2 separate regions of the Homo sapiens genome follow, and region 1 is linked to region 2. Evidence: promoter capture Hi-C in human tissues and cell types (Jung and others, 2019). All regions are on one chromosome and are shown on one strand. The core of a region is centred on a gene start or on the middle of the fragment in contact, and the rest is flanking DNA. Distances in the headings are between cores, read along the strand shown. Region 1 overlaps COL9A1 (collagen type IX alpha 1 chain). Region 2 holds the start of LMBRD1 (LMBR1 domain containing 1).

Region 1 (7,543 bases), core at 186-2,685, 430 kb after region 2:
GAAAAGATGTACTGCTACCCAGTACTTCGCATTTGTGATTTGGAGTTGAAGTAGACTTTCATGGAGGGAAGGTCTGGGCATCAGGGGCGGTGCTGATTTAGAGAAGAGTAATATATTACTGCTGATCAACGGCAAGAGAAAAAAGCTGCAGGGGCTGAACTGGGGCCCAACTTTGCCCTCAGCTTTCCTTGATCCACCTTAAAAAGCAAAAAGTGGACTTGATATATTAATAATAGTATGAACAACCAACATTTCTTGAGCGCCTACTATAGCCAGGAACTGTCTTAAGCAATTTACATGGATTGAGTTTCTTTATTTCTCAGAATTACCCTATCAGAGAGATGTTCTTGTTATCACTGTTTTATAAATGGGAAAACTGAGGTGTAGAGAAATTAAGTAAAATGCCCAATATCATAAAGTTAGTTAGTGGCATAGTCAAAACGTGAACCTAGGATGTCTGAATTGTAGATGCCACTCTTCAAACAGCCCACTTCCAGGTACTAGCTTTAAGGGAGGAATGACCCAAAAAGCTCATGTCAGGAACTTGACTGACTTGAGCATATGCACGGTGTCAACAAGAGAATGTGGGCCGACCTCGAAACCCAAGCCCTCAGCTGGTGCTTTCACCTGCGCACTACACGAGGACACCGCGCCAAAGCGCAGAAAACGATCCACCAGCAGACCCCTCTTCTCTGGCATCTGTGCTTTTGAAAGTTAGCCTATATTCCTGAAAAATAATCTGGAACTCAGATTTGTCACTAAATAATGTCAGATATCGTCTCAATTAAAAGGTAACAAAAGTCCAAAAAAGGAAGGTTACCGAGGTTGAGACATAGAAACCAGGACAAGGAAATCAAGAAAGAAGAGTCAGCTGGGAGGTGAGAAGGATGGGAGATAATCAGAGCTGATGGGGAGAGCAAAGTGAGAGGAGGGGAGAGATCAGAGGAGGGCAACGATTTTGGAGGTGATCCCAGGAAAGCAGGGGCAAGGACTGGCCAAAGGAAGAAAGGAAAAGGAAAACAGAAAGGACAGGTATTAGGAGTCCCCTGGATCAGGGGGTCCACAAAATGTTTCAACAATTCAGATTTAAGATTAAATCCAAGATCAGCTAAAATTAATAATTTTGTTTGTAAGCGATCCTAGGGAGGGCTGCAAATGATGATCTTGTCCTGCCTCACAATTTACTTACACGTGGATGGTCTGATGTTCTAAAAAGCAAGTCGGGGAAGCCCCTCTGACTGACTGTGTGCCCCGTTTGCGCCCCCCATCAACTTGGCTCCTGAAAATGGTTTACTGCAGGTGGGAGATAATGTGCTTCTGACAGTCTGGGACACAGCACACATGGAGCTGATCTTCTCAATCTTCTCATCTTTACATTTAAATTGTGGCTTACCAACAGATTATTTTCAAAGTGAGAATCCCTATAAACCATAATACATTTTCAATAAAGGAAAATGTTGCCAATAGTGCAAGTCATTGGTTCAAGAACTGTTAAGCGATTTGTCAATAAAATGAGAGAAGAAGGAGTTATTAGGCTTTCTCATAAATATATAGATAATTAAGTAAATTGTGATGATGGTATGTTGTCAGCCTCAAAACTTCCTATTCCTACTACTGGTGATGGAGACAGGCACCTTTAGTAAATTCTATTTCCTTTTCCTCTCCTCTACACACCCATCAATGAATCCAAGCTTTACCGTATATTAAAATCTTCTCTAAATCCCATTTAAGCCAGATTTTCCTTTCATTACTAATCATAAATCTTCCATTTCCAATTATAAAAATTTATCAATATGTGAAAACATTTTGATGAGCCCATGAATCAGTTTTAGAAAGGCAGTGTTTGAGTTATCTCCAAACATTCATGTTTTTTTAAAAAATTTTTTAATGAGAACACAATCCCCAGAAGCAATGAAATGGATAATTGGAAAGCAATGATGTTTTTGGCTACAATTATAGCTGTGATTAAATACATCAGCCTCTGGCAGAATTAGAAAATTGTAATTTCTTTTCCTAAACTTCCCTAAGCCAAGTTTTCCCAAACCATTGTGGAAGCAAGTATCATCTCAACTCTCCTCAGCAACAGACCCCTAGGGCTTTGGGAGCCTTCCTAAGCCACTGCCTCCCCACAATAAGAGAGCGTTTGCTGGAAAGTTGCGCATCATTCATGCCCTTAAACTGAACTGGCTTTTGGCCCTGCTATGTTGCCTCTGTGCTTGGGCTTGTAAGTCATTTCCTAAGGGATAAGTGTGTTCCAGCCTGGACTCTGGTGACAGGGTAGCCAGTGTATAAAGAGAACAGAAGGCCCAGTGAGAGAATCTGGGCCCTTCACACAAGGGCTACCCTGTCACCTCAGTTGACACAGCTGTGATGTGTGGCTCTTAGTGATTATGAGCAGGAATGTTCAGTTTTGTATTTTCTTTCTTTCTTTCTTTTTGGATGTGGGGTTTTGGAGGGTCTGGGTGTTTGAAAGGGGAGCTTTAAAAATAAAATTTCAGTTACTCCTTGTGCAAGAGATTAAAAACAGGCTAATCTTCCTACTGCTCTGGCATTTTAGATTAAAAAAAAAAACAGGAAACTATCACCTGCTTTAGAAATAGATAGGATCCAATTTATTCAGAATTTTATAACAAGTGCATTGTGCCTGGACCTTGACACTATTTTTCTTGAAGCATCTATTTAAGGAAATTAGTATTTCAAGTCCTGATACCTATTTTCTGATTTGATTTACAGATCATTTAATTCTTTACTAAAGCTGGTCTTGAAAAATCTATGCTAGCCATTCTGAATAATTAATATGCTTAAGTGATCAAATAACAATTATTTTAAAATTTTATTCAATTCAGGCTGTGTACTTGCTACCAATTTCGCTACCTCCTCCTCTCAGCTATACAACACACTTACCTGGGAGACCTATAGCTCCAGGCAAACCGTTGGGACCTCTTCCTGGAGGGCCACGCTCCCCCTTTTCTCCCAAGTCACCTGCATTACATTAAAGAAATGTTATTTTTCTACATATCTATAAAAATAAACTTCCGCATCTTTAAACTTTCAGCAAATCTAAAATTCAGAAACCAAAAGGTCATGAAATTGCCATAAACTAGATTGTAGTGAGTATGTAGCAAGGCAAAAATCAAGTTCATCTATTAATAGATCTAAGGGGGGAAAATCAAATTATTATATTCATAGATACTGGAATGACATTTGACAAAATTGAACATGCATTCTTGATAAAACATTCAATAAAATAAGAACCAATGGCCACTTCCTAAACACGAAAAATATATCTATCTCAACCCAAAAGCTAGCATTATGCTTAATGGGAAACACAAGAATTAGTTCCACTACAATCAGAACAATATAAAGACGCCTACTTTATCACTAATATATAACTTTTGGTTTGAGTAGTTAAAACTATCTCTATTTTCAGGAGATATGAATATATATCTTAAAACTCTAGAAAGTTAACTCAAAAACTATTACAAACAGTGGCATTCAGTCAACTAGCAGGGTACAAAATTAATATATGGAAATTAAAATTTTATATATATTAACACAACCAGTAATAAGACATAGTAAAAAAGATACCATTTATAATAACAATTAAAATATTAAATAACGAGGAATAAAACTAATCAGAAATAGGCAAGTCCAACATGACAAAAAGTTTAACATTTCTAAAGGACACCAGAAGACTTGAAAATCATTCTTAAATAGAAATGATATCATCATAAAATATTGCCAGTTCTCCCCAAGCTGAATTTTCATCATGATCTTAATAAAAATACAAACCCATTTTTTATCAGAAAAGAAGATCCTGAAGTTTGTATAGAAAAACACATAAGCCAGAGTAAGCCACAAAAACTCCATAAAGAAAAGCAACATGAAGGGAATTAAGTTGACCAGATATTAAATCAACTAAAATGTGTGGTGTTGCTCCCTGAATACTCAGACCAGTGAAACAGAATAGAAAGCCCAAAAAGTAGGCCCAAATACATACAGGATTTGGGTTTATAATGAAGGTGGTGTCTTAAAGTGGGAAAAAGTTGAACAATTCAGTAAATGGTATTGGAAGAAGTGGGTAGTCAACTGGAAAAGAAAAGTTAGATCTATACCTCACACCCTATTCCAGGATAAAATACAAATGGATCAAGTATTTTACTGTAAGTTAAGAATCAAAAGAAAACAAGGGAGAATTATGACCTCAGATTGGCCTTTTTATTAAGATTCAAAATATGAAGGGTTCCTAAAATCAATACAAAAAGGCCAACAACACAACAGCAAAAAAATGACCAAAATACATGAGCAGGCAGGCCACTAAAAGGAAGTAAAAATGGCTCTTAAATATATGAAAAATTCCCTGACTTCACTCTCATAACAAAATAAATGCAAATTGTAAAAAAAAAAAAAAAAAAAAAAAAGGATGCTATTTTAACCTATAAGATCGGCAAAAATTCCAAAGTTCAATTAAAGATATACTAGCAAGTCTGTGGAATATGCACTATTATGAATTGCTGATAAGAGTATAAATTTGTACAATCCCATTGGAGGCTAATTTGACAATAGCTATCAAAATTTTTACCCAGCAGTTCTACTTCTAGGAATTTATCATAGAGATAAAGATGGAGTGTATGCTGCTTTTTAATACAAAAATGAAATATGTACAATGTTGTTCACTGCAGCCTTGCCATAATAGCAGAAGGTTGGAAACAATCTATGTCCATTAAAAGGTTAAAGACATTACAGAATTTCCACAGAATAGAACACTATGCAGCTGTGAAGAATAGCCAGGAAGCTCTTTGGAATGGTCTCCATGGCATACTGCTCAGTGAAAAAGGCAAGTTCCAGAACACTTGCTAAAGGACAATATGATTCATTTTTAAAAGGATGTAGAAAAAATACATATTCATGTATCCTTATATAGAATTGCTTGTAAGGATATGTAAGAAAAGAATAGTATTGATTACCTAGTGGGAAGGAGAAAGGAAATTAGGCAGATGGGAGACAGGGATAGGAGAGAAACTTCACTAAATATCTTTTTTATACATTGTTAATTTTTGGAACTGTATAAATTTAGTATTATGAAATATAAATTAATCAATCTTAAAAACATAAAGTGTGTTGTTACAGTGTCTACATTTCACTACTGACTCATTGTTTATAGGGAACATACTTTGGATTGCAACCAACCATGTGGATTTGCAAGACATTTACAAGACAGTTGATTGAAATTGGGGATTTAGCAGCCACAGAACAAAGTTGCATTAATTATCCCAGCCCCTGAAGATACCAAACCCAGCAACTTGACCTCATTAACAAAAGGCATTAATTCCTTAGTTAACTGGTCCTAAATGATGTCTGCTGCTCTTTGTTGAAGGCATTATCCCATTATTCCGGTAGTACAGTAGTATATCATTATTCTACTATGCTGTTAGAAAATGCAATGGCACCTTGCAATAAATTCTATACATACCATTTTTTTTCCAAACATTTGTTTCAGCTTAGCCTCATTCAATATTAAGTCATATTTGTTATAATTTTAAAAACAAAGTCATGTACACAACAAAAACAGAAAAAATATCTGTATAACCATCTGCACTCAGATAGTCAAAGATCTCTAATTCTGAAGTGAATATTTAGTCACCATACTTTGATTTTAGTTGTGAATGTCTTCATGTGAATGTTTTTATGATAAACTACATTTCATCACATTTCAAAACAATTTAAATTTATATAAATACTATGACGGATTGAACTCAGGTTGAACTCATATTTACATAAGCTAGTTTTTTTAACATTCATCATCAATATGGCCTTACTATATTAGGAAGATACGACAATTAACATCTTATAAACTAATGGCATAAGCATTCTTGTTAACTTGGTAATTTAAGTGTCATATCACTATAATTCTGGAGGCTGGCAATGAGAACAGACTGTCTAAATGTGCCACATTTCTGAAGATATGAGATGAAGATTATAAATTAAAGTGTGGCTTTTACACTGATAGTAAAAGCTAAACTTGTTTGTACATTCTAGCATGAAGCCACACCAACTTTTAATGTTGCTTCGAGGACTAAGACCAGTGTCTTTGTTGTGATACTGTCTTTTGGTTATCAGTCAGAGAAAAACAAGTTTTAAGATGAGCTCCAAAACAGAGCCTATTCTGCAAACTGCTACTCCACAGCAAACCATGTATACAGGTTGGTTCTATCGACAAGGTTAATCTATTACTTCAAACCCTGATCATGTCTTATTTTGAGATGTACAAAAACCAGCTTAGGGAACTAAAGGTCCAGCTTTGTTAGCCTCCTCAGTCAAAAAATATGCATAAAGAGCTTGTAAAATAAGCTTTAGGTAAGGTATAAAGAAAAATACACAGCTTCAGCAGAAAAACAGCTCATTATGAACGAGTGGAAATTCTCATTGCTCTATAGTTGCTATTTATTTCATTTATTCATGAGCTATAATTGATGCTCTATCTCCATGTAAACAGATTATCACTGAGAAAGGTGTTAGTCATAATTATGACATGTGTGTTTTCTCAAACCTTCATTTACATATTGCAGTGTCTGTTTGATTCACACTAAAATATCTAAAAATATACAGCCTTACTCAAAGGGACTTAAAATTAATCCAAACTGTGAATATTTAAAACTAATATTTATGACACAAAAGACCAATGTAATACCAAGCAAAGTGAATATAAGGCCAGTTAGATATCTCTCAGGTTTTAAGCCTGGGCCCTAACATTTTGTATAATATTGTGTAAAGCATGTCAGTGAAAAACAGAAAAATTATAGATATAACCTAAGCTTTGACTATGATTTGAGGCATATTTCTACTAGTTCCTATTGAAAATGTTCTACTGTGTTCTTCAGAGTATTTTCTAGGAGAAAAACAGTGACTAAGACATAGGCTGAACTGTTCAAGCATTCATAATAAAACTTGTTTGTTATTTATGCAGCAGTTTCTCTGGAAAAAGGCTCTCAAAGTGACCATATGGTAGAGCAAGATTCATACCATCCCTTCTTTACCAGGGATGGGGAAAAAAGCCAGCAAGCAATACTGAAATATATCTCTCCTCTAATTGACTGAAAATTTAAGTTTCAAATTGGTGGAATGTTTATGCTCAGGGAAATTTCAGCTGTAACCCCTTGGATATTACAAAGCTATATGTTTTCTAATAAATACTCCTGTTAATGTATGTGGTGGGACAAGAAGAATCAAATCCAGCTACCTAAAATCATACATTTCCAAAAGTATGACAGTGTTAATTGATTTTAAAAATTTAATTACCGCTCCCTACCTCCACCCCAAATTCTCAGAAGTTAAACTAAGAGAAGATACAGCTTTAAAGGAATCTGATAACGAGAAAGGGATGGAGGAGGGTAGGGAGAAAAAAAATCCTTTGGAAAAGGGAAAAGAATTGTATCACTTCATGTTATAGATTATGTCATGAATACTGAAGAAAAATTAAGAGGAAATACCTCACATGATCAAGCTATACTTGACAAACGAACTTAGTGCTAGAGCCATTTCC
Region 2 (7,191 bases), core at 2,369-4,868:
CTGATTCAGTAGGACTGGGGTCACATATTTGGTATTTCTAACAAGTTCCCAGATGATGCCCACACTTTAAGGAACAAGAATAAATTTGCTTTACAAAAATGGAGAGTCTCCTATTGTAATGGCAAATACAATTTAAAGGTGGTGTGAGCCAAATTACAGAGGACATTGAAGCTAGATAGAACAGTTTAGATTTGATATAGTAAAGACAGACATAGTTAGATTACAGGCATGAGATACCAAATCTAACAATTCCTTATGTGTGAAGAAACTGAAGTCCATTCTTTTTGCCCACGATCACAAAAGTAGGCAACATTCATGTCCTGAATCTTTTTTTTTTTTTTTTTTTTTTTGAGACGAAGTTTCCCTCTGTTGCCCAGGCACTATCAGAGCTTGCTGCAACTGCCTCCACAAACCACCTCCTGGGCTCAAGCAATCCTCCCACCTCAGCCTTCTGAGTAGCTGGAACCTCAGGCATTTGCCACCTCGCCCGGCTAATTTTTTGTATTTTTAGTAGGAATGGGGCTTTGCCATGCTGCCCAGGCTGGTCTCAACTCCTGAGCTCAACTGATCCACCTGCCTCAGCCTCCCAAAGTGCTGGGATTACAGGTGTGAGCCACCACACCTGGCCCATGTCCTGAATATTTAGTAGATGATTGGCAGAAGTTCTCCAAGTGTGAAATCCCTAGGCCCTGGTAGTCCCCAGAATCCTTTCTGGAGATTCAGAAGTTGAAAACTATTCTCATAATAAATACTAAGATGCTATTTGCCTTTTTCACTGTGCTGACATTTGCACTCATGGTTCATAGCCACAGTGGGTAAAACTACTGGTGCATTAGCGTGAATCAAGACAGTGGCACCAAACTGCACCAGTAATCATTGTATTCTTCACCACAAGTTCAAAAAGGGACAATTTAAATTAAGACTGTGCTTCACAAAGCAGCATAAATTCATTTTATTGAAATTCAACCCTTGACTCTTTTTAATACTTTGTGGGGTAAAATATGAAGCATGCGTACATAAAGTCCTGCTGCATACCAAGATGTGATGGCTATCTCCAGGAAAAGTTTAGAGTTAAAAGCTAAACCAACCACTCTTCAAGGAACACCATTTTTACTTGAAAGAACAATTGTCAAACTGGTTATTCAGACTTCGCTTTTTGGCAGATTTTGTCAAATGAACAAAGGGAATCTATCACTTAAAGAAAAACTGACAGTATTTGATACCAATGATAATTATGAGTCAAACTTTCAAATGAAAATTGGATTTTGAAAGACTTACATCCACAAGTATGAGCTTGACAACTCTTCAATACTTAGAATTTTCAGAGACATTTCTGACAAGATCAGTTGTAATTTAATGAAATGTGATATTTTGATATTGTGTAATGAAACGTATCCATATTTAAAAGATGTGCATAACTCAGTAAACCAACATTTTCTAAGTGGCCATGGCATCATGTTATAAAACCATGCATGGGTAAAAGAGCCTTTCAAAGTGCAAGATGGGCTAATGGATTTTAATGTAACAATGAATGAAATGCTCATTGATAGGGTTTCAGATTCCACCTTGCAGCTGACATGAATCTTCCACTTGTTGAGCTTTGGTGTAGTGTCAAAAAACATCCACAATTATCTGAAAAACGCTCCTCTGTTTCTGACTACCTATCATTGCAGCTGTATTTTCTCCATACACTTCGACTAAAATAACATACCCCAAAAGACTGAATGTAGAAGGCAACAAAAGAAACCAGCCTTTCTTCTAATAAACCAGGATTTAAAGAGATTTGCAGAAATTTAAACAAAAGTCCTTCTTCCTAATGCTTTTATCCACGACAACATTCAATTCTGATTTTATTTGTCCTTGCTGTAATATTGCCAACTTAAATGGCCTCTCTTCTTCATCTATCCAAACTCTACCACAATTCTCATTTTCTTCCAATATTGTTGTCTATTCTCTTAAGTCCTGCTTTATTTATAGTCACACTTTGGCTTTCGGTCCATAAAATACATGTTTCAAGAATTTCAGTTTTCTCACTTATCTTCAGGCCCTCTTTAAAGCCGTATTTTGTTTGGTTTACATCCTCTTACAATTCACACCACTTCTGTACCGTAAATGTTTATTAATTTATAACTGCCAAGATAGTCTCACGTAACTTTCATACATTACATGCTTATTTATTTTTTTCTAAACAAACTAAATCTGATGGACTGGAAAAGCCAGGGGGCTCTCCAAATACAGGACTGGGTGGCTGCAGAGACCACAGTCAACCTTTAGGGTTTCATTTCCTCCAAGAGAGGACTAACATGTTCCAGGGTAAAGGCAGTGTTTTTATCTGTGACAGTGATGGCAGTAACAAGAGGATCCTTTTCTTAAATTTTCACACCATTCTTTTCTTTTATTTTCTTTTTTTAGTCTCTACTGCAAAAATCTACTAGAACATACTACATAGGTACCAGACACCAACTGGATCTGACAATTAAAGTAAAACCAAACAAGCCTGATTTCCAGAACTGGAGGTTTTTGTTTTGCAATGCAAAAAGGTCAAAATACGTGAGAACAGAAAGTAACTACAGCCTCGGACGATGAGAAAAGAGAAGATTTGAGAAGGTAGAGAAGTTATGAAAGGAAATAAATTGAACTCCCAAATAAACCAAAGGGTTTTAATATGAACAGGGAAGTAATAGCCAGGCCACTCTGAGACATTTCTATCTACACTTTGCTCACTGAATATGCAGAAATAAGATCGTTGGAAAAGAAAGCACCTGAGGTCAGACAGGTAGTAGTATATACTCCGATACTGGTAATAAAGAGGGCTACAGCTCCGCCCTCCACAGGTATCTACACCAATCAAAAAAAGATTAGAAGAGAATGTGACACCTGGAAGTCAGAACGAGCAACTCACGTCATCAAGGCAGAATCACACAATGGGCACAGAGGTTGGAGACTCACTAGCCCCAAGGGTAGGGAAAATGAGGGAAAAAACATACAGAGAAGGTGACAAGTAAACAACGCCAGCGCCTACTTAACTTGCAAAGATCCAGCGCTGCCGCCCCACACCGTGTGACAATGTTTTACAGGGGACGAAAGGCCACCACATACTTCTCAACCCCGAGGGTCTCTTCCGCCCCCAAACCCCACCGGCCCCATTGCCCAAGTCAGCGATGACGGCAAGAGCTTCCAAAAAGGACCCTGCAACCCTAGACGTCATCGGTGAAATGACAGCAAAAGAGACCGGAAATCGACACCCCCCTGCCCCCGCCGCCCGCCCAAGCCCCCAACACTAAGGAGCCCTCCACAGTCCAAGCTAAAAGCGGGGCGGGGCGAAGAGGGTCTCCGGGGCCCGGAGAGGCCAACTGCAGGGCCTGCCCCTCCCTTCCTCCCCCAGTCCAAACATGGGGAAAACTCCAAGCGCCTCCCCTACCAGTAGTAAGAGGCCGAATATGCACCAGCCGATCACCAGCTCCGCCGAGGCCGCGCCAGAAGTCGCCATCTTCGCTTCCGGTCCAGACCAACCTGAGCGCCCGGGGTGGGGAAAGGGGAGGGGGAAAGGGGAGAGAGCGCGAGATATACTGCACCCGCGCACCCTAAAGGTTAAAGGGGCGGAGGGGGAGGAGCAAGTGGTTGCCAAGGAGACTGGACCCACTAGCGTCCCCTGGCGGCGAGCCGAGCGGGGGCGGGGCAGCAAGGACTGCTCAGGGGCGGGGCGCGTGCGGACGCAGTGACATCACCACGCTGCCCTCGCTGGCTTCCCTGCAAGCTGAGATGTGGGAGGGCTGCAGAGCAGGGTGTTGGCTCATAGCTGGGCAACCTATTGAGATATTTGACTCAGCCTAAGTTGATAGACTAGAACAGCAAGGGAACTCCACAAAGAATGGGCTAGGTGGACCTGGAGATCCAAGTCAATTTTAGAGGTTTATACTTCTTCACCAAAAGGAAGTTTGGCCCTCGTGTACAAGGTGGAATGTGTGTGATTAGCAGAACTCCTTACCAGGTTGCAAGAATGGCTGATGTCAGGCCTCTGAGCCCAAGCTAAGCCATCATATCCCCAGTGACCTTCACGTATACATCCAGCTGGCCTGAAGCAACTGAAGATCCACAGAAGTGAAAATAGCTTAGCTGATGACATTCCACCATTGTGATTTGTTTCTGCCCCACCCTAACTGATCAATGTTCTTTATAATCTCCCCCACCCTTAAGAAGTTTCTTTGTAATTCTCCCCACCCTTGAGAATGTACTTTGTGAGATCTACCCCCTACCCCCAAAACATTGCTCTTCACTCCACCTCCTATCCGAAAAACTGTAAGAACCAATGATAATCCCACCACCCTTTGCCGACTCTCTTTTCGGACTCAGCCCGCCTGCACCCATGTGAAATAAACAGCCATGTTGCTCACACAAAGCCTGTTTGGTGGTCTCTTCACACGGACGCATGAGACAGCTGACTCTGAATAAAAGTTGACTAGCTGCCCAAATCACTCTAATTTACTGGCACTGGTGCCCAGCCGGGATAACTGGTTGGCTGGACATGAACTTATCACATGATGTTATAGCCTTTCTATTCAGATGTATGCATGCCTGTGAATTTCCATGATAGCTTTGTATGTAAAGGTATATGCATCAGCAAACAAAACACACTGCCATAGGCCCACAATGAAGAAGAAGGAGGAAACTCTTGGGATGGCTTACCTGAGTCCACAGGGAGGAAACTCTTGGGATGGCTTACCTGAGTCCACAGGGGTGTGAGTGCATGTTTCACCACTGTGATGTAGTCAAGAAACAACTCTGAGAAAAAATACCATCATCTTTTTCCAATGTATTATGTGGTGATGAGTTATGCTCTACCTATAATCTACTTCCGGCTGGAAGCCTGAGGGAAAAAATAGGATGGTCCTTCCTGCCTGGACAGAATAAGAAGGGAATAGGGGAGAATACAGTTTTAACTTGAACTGGTACCATCATAAGCTGGCTTTAAGCCCTCTAGACCTGCAAATGTTTGAATTTCACTCTTTCTTCCTAATAATTCATATCCCTGGAGACCTCTGTCATAGCTTCCTTAAAGTGAAGAGAGGTATCGCTTCCAGGTTGATATCTCTATTCCAGATTGTATAGAGCACCCTTGACATAAGTAACTACTTCTTAGAAAAAGATTCTGTTTACATTTCAAAAGGAATCATGCCAAAAGGGACCAGATGTTCACCTAATCAATAGAGACTGCACCCAACCAGATAACGACATAACCAGGCACACTCTTTTATTATTATTATTATTATTATTATTATTATTATTATACTTTAAGTTCTAGGGTACATGTGCACAACGTGCAGATTTGTTACATATGCATACATGTGCCATGTTGAGGTGCTGCACCCATTAACTAGTCTTACATCAGGTATATCTCCTAATGCTATCCCTCCCCACTTTCCCCCACCCTACAACAGGGCCCAGTGTGTGATGTTCCCCTTCCTGTGTCCAAGTGTTCTCATTGTTCAATTCCCACCTATGAGTGAGAACATGTGGTGTTTGGTTTTCTGTCCTTGCAATAGTTTGCTGAGAATGATGTTTTCCAGCTTCATCCATGTCCCTACAAAGAACATGAACTCATCCTTTTTTATGGCTGCATAGTATTCCATGGTGTATATGTGCCACATTTTCTTAATCCAGTCTATCACTGATGGACATTTCAGTTGGTTCCAAGTATTTGCTATTGCAGGCACACTCTTTACTATCAGTCAACACCAGAGGACTCTGAGGCTATAAAAAGAGTAGAACTTCAACAGCTCAAGATAGCCATCTTAACAGACACTGTCTTACTGTCACTCATGATCAGCATCTAGCATCTGCCACCAAAGGTTCTGCTCAAATCAAAGACTCTTCCTTGCAAAATGTTGATATGCATCCTGATCAGCCGAGGACACTCTCCTTGTCCATGTTGCTCTCCTTGGATTGGTTAATCCTGTTTTCCTAACCTTTCTCTTGATGTTAAATGTTATTTTCTTTTAGAATGTTTAGCCTATAATATTTATATGTTATGTATACTACTATGTTTGGTTTGCAATATTGACTGACTTGTGGAGTGGCTAGAGCTTTGTGTCCTTGGTTCTGACTACCAAATGAATGGGTACTACTAAGGAAAATTACCTCCTTCGGACCTTCATACAGCTCATGGCTTTTATGATTGAAATAGCATCAACAAAAGTCTGACTGTGGAAAGACACAAACTTGCAGGGACTTGAGCCACTGACAGGTAGTCACTTATATCTCCTCCACAAGCCCCAGAGCATACTGAGGTATACTTAATTATTCCTTTTCCTGCTGAGGTCTTGTAATCTTCTTCTAGAAGCTCATTTAAGTTGGAGGAGAGGCCTAAGACAACCCCAAGCCAGTTCTTCCCCTTTCCCCAAATAGTCTAAATCCCCTCTGTAGGAATGATGATACATACCTTGCACCAACAACTTTGGGAGCACAGGCCAATCCCAATGTAGCTCCATTCTCCTAGTTCTACAATCAAAGGAATCAGCCCTTTTTGATTATACCCAAGAAAGTCAGCCCCTGATGCTACAGTCCACTGTAGTTCTCTCTACTGGGTCAGACACTAGCCCTCTGTGTCCTCAATTTCAGGGGCCATATTTCAAATTCTCCAAGTAGCTCCCTTGAGGCCTCCCTTACTAGGCTAAGGGTTAGAAGGTAACACCCCACTCCAACCCACCCACCCCTCCACCTCACCCACAAATACACCACTCTTTGGAGTTAAGGATGGAATTCCACAGGTCAGCAACAGTTCTCATTAAATAAATCTGTTTATGAATCTTCTCCTCTTGCTAATACATTTGTAGAAATTTTATTTGTCTGAGGGGTCTAAGAGTTATATAATAAATTCTTGAATCCCTTTTTAATTATGCATATAAGGGAGAATTCATAGTTAGAATGCAGACAAGTAAAAATAAAAATCTGACCCTCCTCCATGGAAGCCCTGGGGCCTCCGTTTTTTCTGGGGACCAGGATCCAGGTCTCCTGCTCACCTGGAGGTAAGAAAGGGAGCCCAGAGTCAGGACCCAGTGAGAGGGTTCTGGAGCTGAAAGGAAAAAGACTCCCCTAAGGATCTTGAGGACAGTCAAAATTTGCTGAAATGTCCCATTTCTGGAGAACCCTACCATCTCCATGACTGCAAGCCCATGTTAGCCTGCTGGAGAA

What was found. Contacts are between HindIII fragments. The study calls those that stand out against the background at their distance.
Region 1: a contact is called between a fragment that was not itself captured here and the fragment with the promoter of LMBRD1 in region 2, in 1 of the 25 tissues and cell types used here (dorsolateral prefrontal cortex).

Annotation. Positions count from the first base shown.
Region 1 is chr6:70,223,028-70,230,570 of GRCh38, forward strand. COL9A1 (collagen type IX alpha 1 chain) reads right to left here. Exons shown (of 38, transcript NM_001851.6): 37 at 2,905-2,982. Among named protein-coding and RNA genes, the nearest start is that of COL9A1, 76 kb to the right of the region's middle. The HindIII fragment of the contact is 5,172 bases long and covers 1-4,021 here.
Region 2 is chr6:69,793,392-69,800,582 of GRCh38, forward strand. It overlaps LMBRD1 (LMBR1 domain containing 1), which reads right to left and starts at 3,619. Exons shown (of 16, transcript NM_018368.4): 1 at 3,422-3,619. The coding sequence starts at 3,490. RefSeq lists enhancers at 2,570-3,126, 2,951-3,000, 3,127-3,682, 3,311-3,540. The HindIII fragment of the contact is 20,594 bases long and covers 1-7,191 here.